2 separate regions of the Homo sapiens genome follow, and region 2 is linked to region 1. The links are contacts of gene promoters, found by promoter capture Hi-C in human tissues and cell types (Jung and others, 2019). All regions are on one chromosome and are shown on one strand. Each heading gives the region's core, a stretch centred on a gene start or on the middle of the fragment in contact. The rest is flanking DNA. Distances are from core to core; before and after follow the strand shown.

Evidence for each region. The method cuts DNA at HindIII sites, captures the fragments that hold promoters and counts their contacts. A contact is called where the count stands out against the background at its distance.
Region 2: a fragment that was not itself captured here is called in contact with the fragment with the promoter of SPAG17 in region 1 in 1 of the 25 tissues and cell types used here (heart left ventricle).

The regions. Positions count from the first base shown.
Region 1 is chr1:118,181,778-118,188,007 of GRCh38, reverse strand. It overlaps SPAG17 (sperm associated antigen 17), which reads left to right and starts at 2,780. Exons shown (of 49, transcript NM_206996.4): 1 at 2,780-2,937. The coding sequence starts at 2,851. LOC105378930 (a long non-coding RNA gene) reads right to left here and starts at 2,778. Exons shown (of 4, transcript XR_947746.3): 1 at 2,195-2,778; 2 at 1,727-1,853. The HindIII fragment of the contact is 16,923 bases long and covers 1-6,230 here.
Region 2 is chr1:118,224,750-118,230,751 of GRCh38, reverse strand. No RefSeq gene overlaps it. Among named protein-coding and RNA genes, the nearest start is that of SPAG17, 43 kb to the right of the region's middle. The HindIII fragment of the contact is 4,437 bases long and covers 1-4,027 here.

The DNA of each region.
Region 1 (6,230 bases), core at 1,531-4,030:
AGGAAAATTCTTTTCTGGCAGATCTCTCTCTGGCATTACCATGCATCAGTTATTTTATTTTCATGACAAAAGAGGGCTTCCAGATGTAAATTATTTAGCCTATGGCCAGGCTGCCATAGGATCTATCTATTCCCTCCCAAGAAGATGAACTGTATTTATTCCAGCAAGAAATAAAAACTCGTATTTTTCTGTAAAGTTTCTGTGAAAGACTGTTTCTAGAAATTATTTTTCTTTAATACAATGGTCCCTTGGTATCCACAGGGAATTAGTTCCAGGACCCTTCACGTTCTCAGATAGAAAAATGTCTGATATTCAAGTCCCTTAATGATGTGTCTGCATTTGGTTCCTGCCGGTGGGTTCATGGTATCGCTGACTTCGAGCATGAAGCCCAGGCTTCCACGGTGTTATAGCTCTTAAAGATGGCATGGACCCTGTCCGGGTGCGGTGGTTCACGACTGTAATCCCAGCACTTTGGGAGGCTGAAGTGAGAGGATCACGAGGTCAGGAGATGGAGATCATCCTGGCTAACACAGTGAAACCCCATCTCTACTAAAAATACAAAAATTAGACAGGTGTGGTGCTGGGCGCCTGTAGTCCCAACTAGTCAGGAGGCTGAGGCAGGAGACTGTTGTGAACCCAGTCTGCCTCCGCTGGGAGGCAGAGCTGGCAGTGAGCCGAGATCCACCATTGCATTCCAGCCTGGGAAACAGAGTGAGACTCCATCTCAAAAAAAAAAAAAAAAAAAAGATGGCACAGACCCAAAGAGTGAGTGGTAGCAAGGATTTTTGTGAAGAGTGAAACAGCAAAAGCACAAAGCTTCCACAGCATTGAAGGGGACCCAACAGGTTGCCGCTGCTGGTTGGTGGTGGACAGCTTTTATTCCCTTATTGTCTCCGCCCATGTTTTGTTTTTGTCCTATCAGAGCGCCCTTTTTTCAATCGTCACTACGATTGGCTACTTTTAGGATCCTGCTGATTGCTGCATTTTACAGAGTGCTGATTGGTGCATTTTACAGAGCACTGATTGGTGCATTTTTACAGAGCACTGATTGGTGCATTTTACAATCCCCTTGTTAGCTACAGAGCACTGATTGGTGCATTTTACAATCCTAGCTACAGAGTGCTGATTGGTGCATTTTACAATCCTGTTGTAAGAAAAGTTCTCCAAGTCCCCACTCAACCCAGGAAGTCCAGCTGGCTTCACCTCTCAATAAAATGGCCTAGTATTTGCACATAACCTACGCACATCCTCTCCTACACTTTAAATCATATCTAGATTATTTATAATATCTAATATTATGTAAATGCTGTAAAATAGTTGTTATGCTGTATTTTTATTTGTATATTTATTTATGTTTTAATATTTTGGATCCAAAGTTGGTTAAATCCAGGGATGAAGAACTGTGATGATGGGAGGGCTCACTCTAACTATATTAAAGAATTAGGGTGGAAAGATAAACTTCCTTTCATGGTCCAAATTACGAACAAAAGTTGAAGCATCATCATTAAAATTTGCCCCCAAATGAAAAAGGATGCTAGTGGCTGGATAGCACTATCCTCCTTCCCTCAATTTATTCCTCAAAGAAATTAAAAGGGTTAGCAATTAAAAGGTTTAGAACATCCCCCGTGGAAGGTCACCCGTTCATCAGGTTGTGCCCAGGGAAATTAAGTTTCTGGCTTGCATCACCTCACTCATCTGGGCCACTGGGATAACTGAAGCATCTCACCTCTAGGCAAAGTGCAGGGCCTTAATGGCTAGTTAAGCCCTGGTCAGTGCTGAATTCCATATGACTAATGAGACCGCAAGGCACCTTTGGTTGCGCTCTGCCCCAGGGTGTCCTCAAATTTGTCTCACTGCAATAAAAAACAAAAGTAAATCTAGCTCCAGAAGGGGGTATCCCTCATTTTGGCAGGCCTAAAACAGTAGTAGACAGCAGTGTAGCAGTTATGCACACTAGATCTGTGACTCAGATAATCCTGGGATCTAATCCTGGCACCATCAATCAGACACTGTGGGAATTGGATAAGGTGGTTGTGAGAATTAAATGAAATAATCTTGTATATAGCATATAACCAGTGCCCAAGAAACAATGGTTTTTATTACTATCATTATTTTGGGAAACTTGTCCAACCAGGATATTTTAGATATTGATGAGTGCAGGGTGGGAAAAAAGGGGAAAAAAAAGTCTACTTACCAATCAATAAAAGGCAGTTTAAAGGACTGGAGCTGTTTGGGCAGATAAGTACATTAATCCCACCTACAGTTAGATAAGGGGTCACGTGGAAGGGTGATTGGACTTGTTTAGTAAGGCCCCAGAGGCGGAGGCTGAAACAGTGCAGAGGGTAGAGGTCAAGGAGAGACAAATTTGGATTCATATAAGGAAGCATTTGGGGCAGATTAGAGCGGTTGGGAAAAAACGGCATGGGCTGCCTCCTGAAGGGGTCAGTATTCCAATCTTGGTTACTCAGGATCGGAAGAAATCTTGATGGAGGAGTCCTGGATGGGATTCCAGAGATTTTGAGTTTCTAGACAACGCCTCAGACCGTAGAAGAACGTAGCCCGACCTGCGAGGCCAGCCTCGTCCTGCCCTCCTCCAGTTGTGCAGCTTTCCTGCTGAAAAGTCCTAAAATTTGACCGGGGGACTGGGAACCCCGCCCCCAAGCTGCCGCGCGCTCTGAAACTCCGTTGCTGTGGAGACGGAGGCGGTTGACCCAAGGATTCCGAACGGTGTTGGGGGAGGGGAGCCGACGTGGTTCAGGAACTGGGCGTGGCTTCGGTTACTGTGGTAGCGGGGACGCTTAGGCAGGGCCTGCGCCCAGTTTAGAGGCCAATGCTTCTCCCGTCCTTTGCATGGCACCCAAGAAGGAGAAAGGAGGAACTGTGAACACCAGTTCTAAGATATGGGAACCCTCGCTCATAGCTGCACAGTTCAATCAGGTGAGCCTTGAGCCCTTTAAGCCCTCCCTGCCCCCGGCAATGCCAGAGGCCCGGCCAGACCCTCCTAGGCGACGCCTTAAGGCTCGCCCTCTCTTCCGTATCTCTCCGTGGCCTGATGGTTCCAGGACCCAGGGTCCCAGGGACAGGAAGTGCTTGATAAACGAACGGAACTTAAGGGAACACCCACCAGGTGAGTCAGTGTGATTTCAAAGGTTGGTGAGAACTGCCTAGTGGGGAAGAGAGGAGGTGTCGCTCTGACACCTCCAGAACCTTTTCAGTGAAGTCGTCCAGATGGCACTCCACAATTGTACTGGAATTCCTTTTATGGACTTTTTGTTTTCTCCTGAAACCTTCTAAAGGATGAGAATCGCATCAAATCATCTGTGGCCTGGCCCATAATAGGGCTTTAATAAATGCTGAGTGAAAACAGACACGGAGTGCCTAGAATTACACTGTATTTAGTACAAGCGAGCCTTGTATAGATAGGAAAAGATGATTTTTTAATGTAATGCCCTGATCCCACTATATTAAAGTTTTGACATATTTTTAAGGTGTGGGAGATCAGAGCAATGAGGGGTTGGCGGCCAACTTACCCACAGAATGCCACAAAGGCACCAGGCAATCTACAAACCACCTACCACAGGACTTCAAAGTGCATGAGATCCCAGAATTCACTGGCTCCCCACCCAGCTTCAGTAAATGAGGAGCCCAATAGCTCTTGTCACCTGCAGCTGGAAATCCCCTTCTACATTAAGCTGTTTCTACGTACAAGTTAGCATTTGGGAAGAGAAAAGTTGTTTCTGGAAATTCCAGCCCGCCATTATGAACTACTTTGAAAAGTGGGGAAAAAAAATTTTTTTTTCATTTTATATATGTCTGTATGGTGCACTAGAGAGTCAGTACTTAAAGGGAAAATGGATCTAAAGTCTTGTGTTGCCTTCATGAGAAATTTTTACCTGTCTTTATTTTCCACTATAACTGTTTTTTTTTCCTATTAACAGTAATTCTGTTTGATAAGGAAATTAGTCCTGATGAAGAATTTCATGAAAGTAGTTGTGATACTCCTGATGCTGATGTGATGTCATGGAATTTTGGGTCCTTTCTATAACTTTAGTAATGCTGGATGTCAACTCAGTAATCCCCAGTTACATTCTCAAATTCTCAAAGATGTTTTTCAAAGCACTTTGTAAAAGCACCCTCTCTTTTGCTTTTATAAGTCAGCGCTAGCCAAAATAATTTTTTCTCCATTTTCTTTGAGATTGTGTAGGCCAAGTTTGGTCTTGGAGTGAACATTTCTGCTTGAATTATAAACTGCTGAACAACGGAGTTTGATGGAGGTGCTGACACTGCATTAGCTTTAGTGTTGCAAATATGAAGCTATAATTTTCCTAGTTGAATGGAAAACCTAAAGGCACTATTTGTCCTTATGGCTTGAAAACCTGAAATAATATTCAGCTTTCTTGATCCTACTCAAACAATATAACTTCAATAAATCTTATGTATTAATAGAAAGAATTTGAACTCAAAGTAATATGTAGTTTTAACTATAAACAGTGAACTCAATTTTCTTCAGTTTGTTGGAATACACATTTTCTTATTGCAGGAAAAAGACAACTACCCTCCACCTCCTCTCTCATTTTTCTCTGCTTGATTTCATGTCTGATCTAAAAGAATAATTCCCAGATTAACCCAGCAGTTCAATGCCCAGAGGCGTGCCCTAACCACCAATGAAACGGACTCTGAATTTAGGTTATAGATGACTGTGGGTGTGTGAATTTTGAGCACACGTAGTGTGCTCTATTGTTTTAGTATCCAGAGAGTTTCTTTCCATACACTTGTTACTCATGTCCAAGTATGTGTGGTTGAGTGTGTGTGCTAGTTTATGTGTTGTATTATGTGTGTGTGCTGGGGGTGAGAGAGAAGGAAAGAATTCCTCCAGTCTTCCATAAACAAGTTTTTAGAAGTAACTCATTGGATAACCCAAATCAATAGTATTTTTGAACTCATGTTCATGTTGGGTAGGCTTTAAAGAGAATAAACAAGTTCACATTTTGGTTTTATTGAATTTACCTTGTATCACTGTCTCAGGTTGTCCTTTCAGGCTGGAATAATTATCAGTTGTTTCATACATTTTAGTTGGTTTTAAAATATAAAATGATAGCAAATAATACAAAGCATTCTATCACTAAGCACTAAATGATTAAATAGAGACTAGAGGTTAGGAAGATGAATATGGGCTGGGATAGTCAGGAAATGATTTGTAAAATATTTGCCTTCACCTGGGCTCTAAATAATGGGTGGAATTTGAACAGGTAGAATGAAGAAGCATGATTATTTTAAGTAGGGAGACTAATATGTGCACCAAGTAAATCTGATACATTTAGATTGGGAGAAAAATGTACGTTAGACCACTTCTGGGTCTACGTTGCTCCTAAATTAATTCCGTCAAGGAAATGGTCATTTACTATCTTTGCTATCCATATACCAAAATATTTAACTTACTGATATGAGTGAAATATCACATCTCAAATTATATAAAAAGAAAATAGGTACATTGGCAATAAGATAAAAATACCCTTTTGTGTTAGTATGTATGTGACATAGACATTATATTTATGATCTCTAGCAGCATTAGAAAGTCAAAGATGCCTTGGTATCATAGAGATTAAAATCTTTCCATGCAATGGTCAAGGCAGGCTCTATTGGCCACAGTGATAGGAAGAAGTGTTAACCTTAGCACTCGGTACTATTTAAACAATATTAATTCCCCATCCTTCCCTCTCCTCACCCCCTGGAAGCTGCCATTGTACTTTCTTTCTCTCCAAATTTGACTACTTTAGGTACTTCATGTAAGTGGAATCATGTAGTATTTGTCTTTTTGTGACTCTTATTTTTACTTAACATAATGTCTTCAAGGTTCATTCATATTGTAACATGTCTCAGAATTTCCTTACTTTTTACATTTTATTTATTCATTCATTCATTGATGGGCACTTGGGTTGCTTTCACCTCTTGGCTGTGGGTGTGCTAAAATCTGTTGGAGTCTCTGCTTTAAAATCATTTGGGTATGTGTACAGAAGTAGAATTGCTGGATCATATGATAATTCTGTATTTAATTTTGTTTTGAGACGGGGTCTGTGTGGCCCAGGCTGATCTCAAACTCCTGGACTCAAGCAATCCTTCCACCTCGGGCTTTCAAAGTGCTAGGATTGCAGGATTAAGCCACTGTGCCCAGATTTAATTTTTTGAGGAACTACCATATCATTTTGCACAGTGGCTACATCATTTTGCAT
Region 2 (6,002 bases), core at 560-3,059, 44 kb before region 1:
CATTTATTCTTTTGTCCTTTCCCAGTTCTAAGGCTTGGGTAAGCACCACTAGTTCTGCTAACTGGGCACTGGTCCCTGTGGGAAGAGGCTTACTTTCAACTACTGTTACATCACTAACTATAGCATAATCTGCCCTTCATATCCCATTCTCCACAAATGAACTTCCATTGGTATGTAGGTTAAGGTCAGGATTAACTAAGGGGACTTCTAAGAGATCCTCTCTGGAGGCATAAGTCTGGGCTACAATTTATTGGCAGTCACGTTCAATTGGTTCTCCATCTTCTGGGAGAAAAGTGGCAGGGCTGAGGACTGCAAGTGTGCATATTTGAAGCACCAGTTCCTCAAGGAGTAGCACCTGGTATCTAAGCAGGCAGTTGTCTGATAGCCATAAACTTCCTTTGGCACCTAGTATGCCATTTACATCATGAGTAGTCCAGATGGTGAGACCCTTTCCTTGTGTTATTTTGATAGCCTATGATACTGAGATGGCCACTGCTTCAACTACCCATAAACAGTGAGGCCAGCCTTTTGCTACTACTTCAATTTTCTTACTTAGGTATGCCACTGGCTGTGGGGTTGTCCCACGAGTCTGAGTAAGGACTCCAAGAGCTATTCCCACTGTCTCTGTGATGTATAAAGATAAGTTCTGTCCTGTGGGAAGGCTTAAGGCTAGAGCTTGTACTAGGGCCTGCTAAGGTTTTGAAGGCTGTTTCTGCCTCTGATTCCCATTCTACTAGATGAGTATTTGCCCTCTGGGTCTCCTTGATTATAGAGTGGCCTGGCCATCTCACTGTATTCGGGGATCCATAGTTGGCAAAAGTTGGTGATTCCAAGGAACCCCCACAACTGTTTTAATGTCTTAGGGTGAGGATAAGCCAGTATAGGCTGTATTTGTTCCTTGCTGAGGGCCCTGGTTCCTCTGGCTAAGATTAGGCCTAGATATTTGACTTGTTGTAGGCAGAGATGGGCCTTCAATTTAGATGCCTTGTACCCTTGATTAGCTAGAAAGTTCAAGAGATCTAGAGTAGCCTGCTGGCATGAGGTTTCCAAACTGGTAGCCAAAAGTAAATCATCCACATACTGAAGGACCAGAGTGTCTGGACTTGAGAAGTGGTCTAGATCTTGGGCCAGTGCCTGACCAGACAGATGAGGGCTATCCCTAAACCCTTGAGGCAAGATCATCCATGTGAGTTGGGCTGTGTGGTCTGTGGGATCCTCAAAGGCAAAGAGAAACTTGGAGTCAAAGTGCAGGGAATGCAGAAGAAGGCATCCTTGAGGTCCAGAACAGTGAACCATTCTGTTTCCTCTGGTATTTGAGATAGCTGGGTATAGGGGTTGGGTACAACTGGATATAGAGGAATTACTGCCTCATTGATGAGTCTAAGATCTTGCACTAGTCTCCACTGACCATTCAGTTCTTGTACTCCTAGAATTGGGGTGTTGCAGGGACTGCTGCATTTTCTTACTAAGTCTTGAGCTTTTAAATTTCTAACAATATCCTGTAATCCTTTATGAGCTCCAGGCCTTAAGGGATATTGCCTTTGATAAGGAAAAGTGGTGGGGTCTTTTAGCCTGATTTGTACTGGCTGGGCATTTTTTGCCTTTCCAAATTGTCCTTCCAATGCTCAGACTTCAGGGTTGATTCCCTCCTTAAGTAGGGAACAACAAATGGGTAACTTGTTCCCCATATTCATATAGATAAAAGCTTCAGCTTTGGCTAATATGTCCCTCCCTAATAAGGGTGTTGGACTTTCAGGCATAACAAGAAAAGCATGTGAAAAGAGAAAAGTCTCCCAATTACAACTGAGGAGGTGGGAGAAATACCTGGTTACAGGCTGTCCCAGGATTCCTCGGATGGTAACAGACCTTGAGGACAGCCATCTGAGGCAGGAGATTAACAGTGAGAAGACTGTGCCAGTGTCCAGGAAGAAGTCAATTTCCTGGCCCTCAATAGTTAAATGTACCCCAGGTTCTGTGAGGGTGACAGCATGAGCTGGTCCTTGCCCTGAGCACCCTCAGTCCTATTGTTGAATCATCTTGTTGGGGGCTTCTGGCCCAGAGAACCTTTGTCCTCTGGGGCAGTGTGCTTTCCAATGATTGCCTTGGTGTAGTGGACATGGGCGAGGGAGCAGCTAGTTTTTCTTTGGACAATCTTTTTTTAAGGTGTCCTTGCAAACCAGACTGATAACAAGCCCTACCAGGTGATTGGCCTGTCCCATTTTCTGTACTCTCTTAACCACCAAGATTTGTTTGTCTGAGGGCCATGACTAAGGCTGTGGCCTTTCTCCTATCTCACTTTTCCTTTTTGACCTGTTTCTCCTGGTTCCTATTATAGAACACCAAGGTTGCCAGGTTTAATGATGCCTCCAGATGTTGTTCAGGGCCCAGGGCTAGCTTTTGGAGCTTTCTCCTGATATCTGTGGCTGATTGGGTACTAAACTTATCTTTTAGGATCAATTGACCCTTGAGAGAGTCAAGTGACAGGGGAGTATATTTACTTAACGCCTCCCATAGCTGCTCAAGGAAGGTGGAGGGATTTTCTTCCTTTCCCTGAGTTACGGTGGACATCATTGAATAATTCATGGGCTTTTTCCTAATTCTCCTTAGTCCTTCTAGAACACAGGTCAGCAGATGTTTACAACTCCAGTCCCCATGATCTGAGTTGAGGTCTCAGTGGGGATCCATACTGGGCACGGCTTGCTGACCAGTAGGGAATTTGTCCCTTTATTCAGCTGTCCTTCTATAATTTACTAGACTAAGATACCAGGTATCTCCAAACTCTCAGGCTGCAGCTAAAGCTGCATTCTTTTTGTTAAAGGCCAGGGTTTGATTTAACAATAGCATGACATCTCCCCAAGTGAGGTTGAAAGTTTGCCCTAGACCCTGTAGGACATCTATATACTAGCAGGATCATCTGAAAACTTCCCCAGGTCTACCTTGATCTGCTTTAAATCGGAGAGGGAGAAGGGGACATGTACGCGGGTTGGGCCAAATTCCACCCCCCCAAACAGCTTGAAGGGGATATAACTGATAGCCCGGGGGGTTTTGTGGTCCCTTGGAGATTTCTTTCCTTGTTTCCTTCTTGGTGGGGGAGATTAGAGGAGGCTTATCACTAATAGGAAGAGGAATTGTAAGGAGGCTAGGATGTGGAGGTAAGCTGAGATGTCCTCCTGTGGGATGTAAATTGTAAGCTTTGCATAGTTGTGGATTATCCTTCAATGAAAAGAAAGCTTGGACATAAGGTATTTCACTCCATTTGCCTTCCCACTTACAGAAAAGGTCAAGCTGCAGGATAGTGTTATAATTTATACTTCCCTCAGGTGACCATTTTTCCCCATCAGAGAGAGAATATTGGGGCCAGGCCAAAGGGCAGAAAAAATAAGCTGCTTCTTTTTCAGGATTTGTGGGTCATTGGTCCCAATGGCTTAGGATGCATTTCAAGGGTTAGCCTGTTGATGCCTGAGTGTTTCCCATCTGAAAGAAAAAAACACCCATGTTTTTTTTGTTGTTGTTTTTTCCCTGCCCAAGAACCTGCAATGGTCCCTGGACCCTGCTGTTCAGAATAGTTGCACTCACCGAAGCAGCAGCAGAAACACTAGTTTTCCTCCTAGACCACAAAGAGGACTGAGGAAGGTCAGATTTAGTGGCCCTTACCAATGCTTTCTCAAAAACCTGCACCTTTGCCTTTCCTCTTAGACCACAAAGAGGACCAAGAAAAATCGGATTTAGTGGCCCTTACAGATGCATTCTCGAAAACCTGTTAGAGTCCTAAACGTTCTCTCCTGTTAGTATTGGGACCTTACCCTTGTCCTATAAAGATGATATGCCTTGAAATGGAGTGGAGAGCCATACCTGAGGGAGGGAAGGGATCAGGGTTGAAAGAGTGACACCTTTTGTCCTCACTTCTCACCATATGAATAGGAAGGATGTCTACCCCAATTTTGGAGTCTATAATTTCTGAGGCTCCCCATACCCTAGCATTGGGAATAGACTTTGTTAGGCCTGCTAGTCTGAGGAGGAATCCTAAAATTCCAGATAGTCCCCCTACTGACAAGGCTTTGGGCAAAAATTATGTCTTTCTGATTGGCGAGGCTGAGTGCCTAAAGAAGGGAACAGGGTCTGGAAATTTATACTAGAAATCATTCTTATAGGAGAAACTAGAAAAGCACCAGAGACAGGGAGTGTTTTTTAGAAGCAAGACTAGCCTCAGAAAAGAGAAGCAGGAGGAAGTTTGTCTGACAGGCTTTAGGACCCAGGAGGCAAGGGTCAGGAAAAATAGGATAGATGGACAAATCTTGTTTGAGACACGTAACTTTGAGAGTTCTGCTCATGGCTGTAGGGCCAACCAACTTTTTATCAGGACCCCAGAGCTGAATGGCTTTCCTCTTGGTCTACCCTCAGCTCAGCCTGGAAGTACAGAAAAAGTGGAAGCTGGTTCCAGGCAAGCCAACACTCCCAACTCTGAAAAGTTGGGGGTTGTTACAGAGCCCTTTCCCAGAAAGCCTGACACCCATGTCTTTAGTCCAGCAGCCATGCTAGTCACTTTTAACTGGCCGACAGGTGCCCGGTGGTTAGCCCCTGAATTCTAAGTAAAAAAAGACAGAATAGCAAGTGAAAGGGGTCCAATGGGACTCACCGCATGGTGATATCCTAGACAAGCCCCTAAGATGTGTCCAGAGTTGGTTCCTTCCAGTGAGTTGTGGTCTCTCTGACTTCAAGAATGAAGCCGTGGACCTTCATGGTGAGTGTTACAGCTCTTAAAGGCGGCATGGACCCAAAGAGTGAGCAGCATCAAGATTTATTGTGAAGAGCAAAAGAACAAAGCTTCCACAGCTTGGAAGGGGACCTGAACGGATTTCCACTGCTGGCTTGGGTGGCCAGCTTTATTCCCTATTTGTCCCCTCCCGTGTTCCATTTCTGTCCTATCAGAATGCCCTTTTATCAATCCTCTCTGTGATTGGCTACTTTTGGGATCCTGCTGATTGGTGTGTTTTACAGAGCGCTGATTGTTGCATTTTACAGAGCACTGATTGGTGCGTTTTACAGAGCACTGATTGGTGCATTTTAAAGAGCACTGATTTGTGCACTTTACAATCCTCTTGCTAGCTACAGAGCACTGATTGGTGCATTATTACAGAGCACTGATTGGTGCGTTTTTACAACCCTCTTGTAAGACAGAAAAGTTCTCCAAGTCCTCACTGGTATGTTCCTGTGGTAGGTCTTGGAGCAAAAGTTCATGATGTGCGTCTCCACACGTTGGTTGCTCTGTCCTTCTGAGCATGAACTGCAAGGTAGTACTGCCTCCTATCCTCCATCTTAATCCAGTGGGGATTATTTTTAATGTGGCTTATCAATTTTATTTATTGCCATTCTTTGATGTTCCCATAAACATTATGATTGCCTGCCAGGAAATTATACTCAAAATAGGCTTATGGGCACTTAGAATAGTGCCGAGGAAAAAATGATAATTAATAGTACTGAGCTAAAGGTAAGCCTTTATCCCTTTCCAAATGTGAGGCATAGATGTCCTAGTTGGTTTTTTTTATTTTTTAAAGATAACATTCAAATGTTGCTACCTTTCTGCTGAATTACTTGAGTAGAACCACTTCAGCAACTTGTATGTGCATGTGTGTGTGTGTGTGCATGTGTGTGTGTGTGCATGTGTGTGTTCATGTGAAACATTCAACTAATGCTCAAGCAGCCCTTACAGTGCTTGGAACTTACAAATGAAAGCTTTCCTCTAGGAAGCATCTCTCAGGGAAATAGGTGCAAGAGGAATACTGATATTTTAACCTTTGCCTCACCTTAAATTTTCAGCAAAGCACAGTGTTACTTCCTTTTAGTGCTAATTTTGGAGTAGTTACTATTTGTCTTCCTTATATCCTGCTTGATATTTTCCTTCTACAGTTGGGAATTAGGGATTCCAAACACCAGGAGGAGAGGAAAAGCTTCTATTCTCCTCCAACATTGTACTCGAGAACAGACCTCTCTGAATGTAGCTA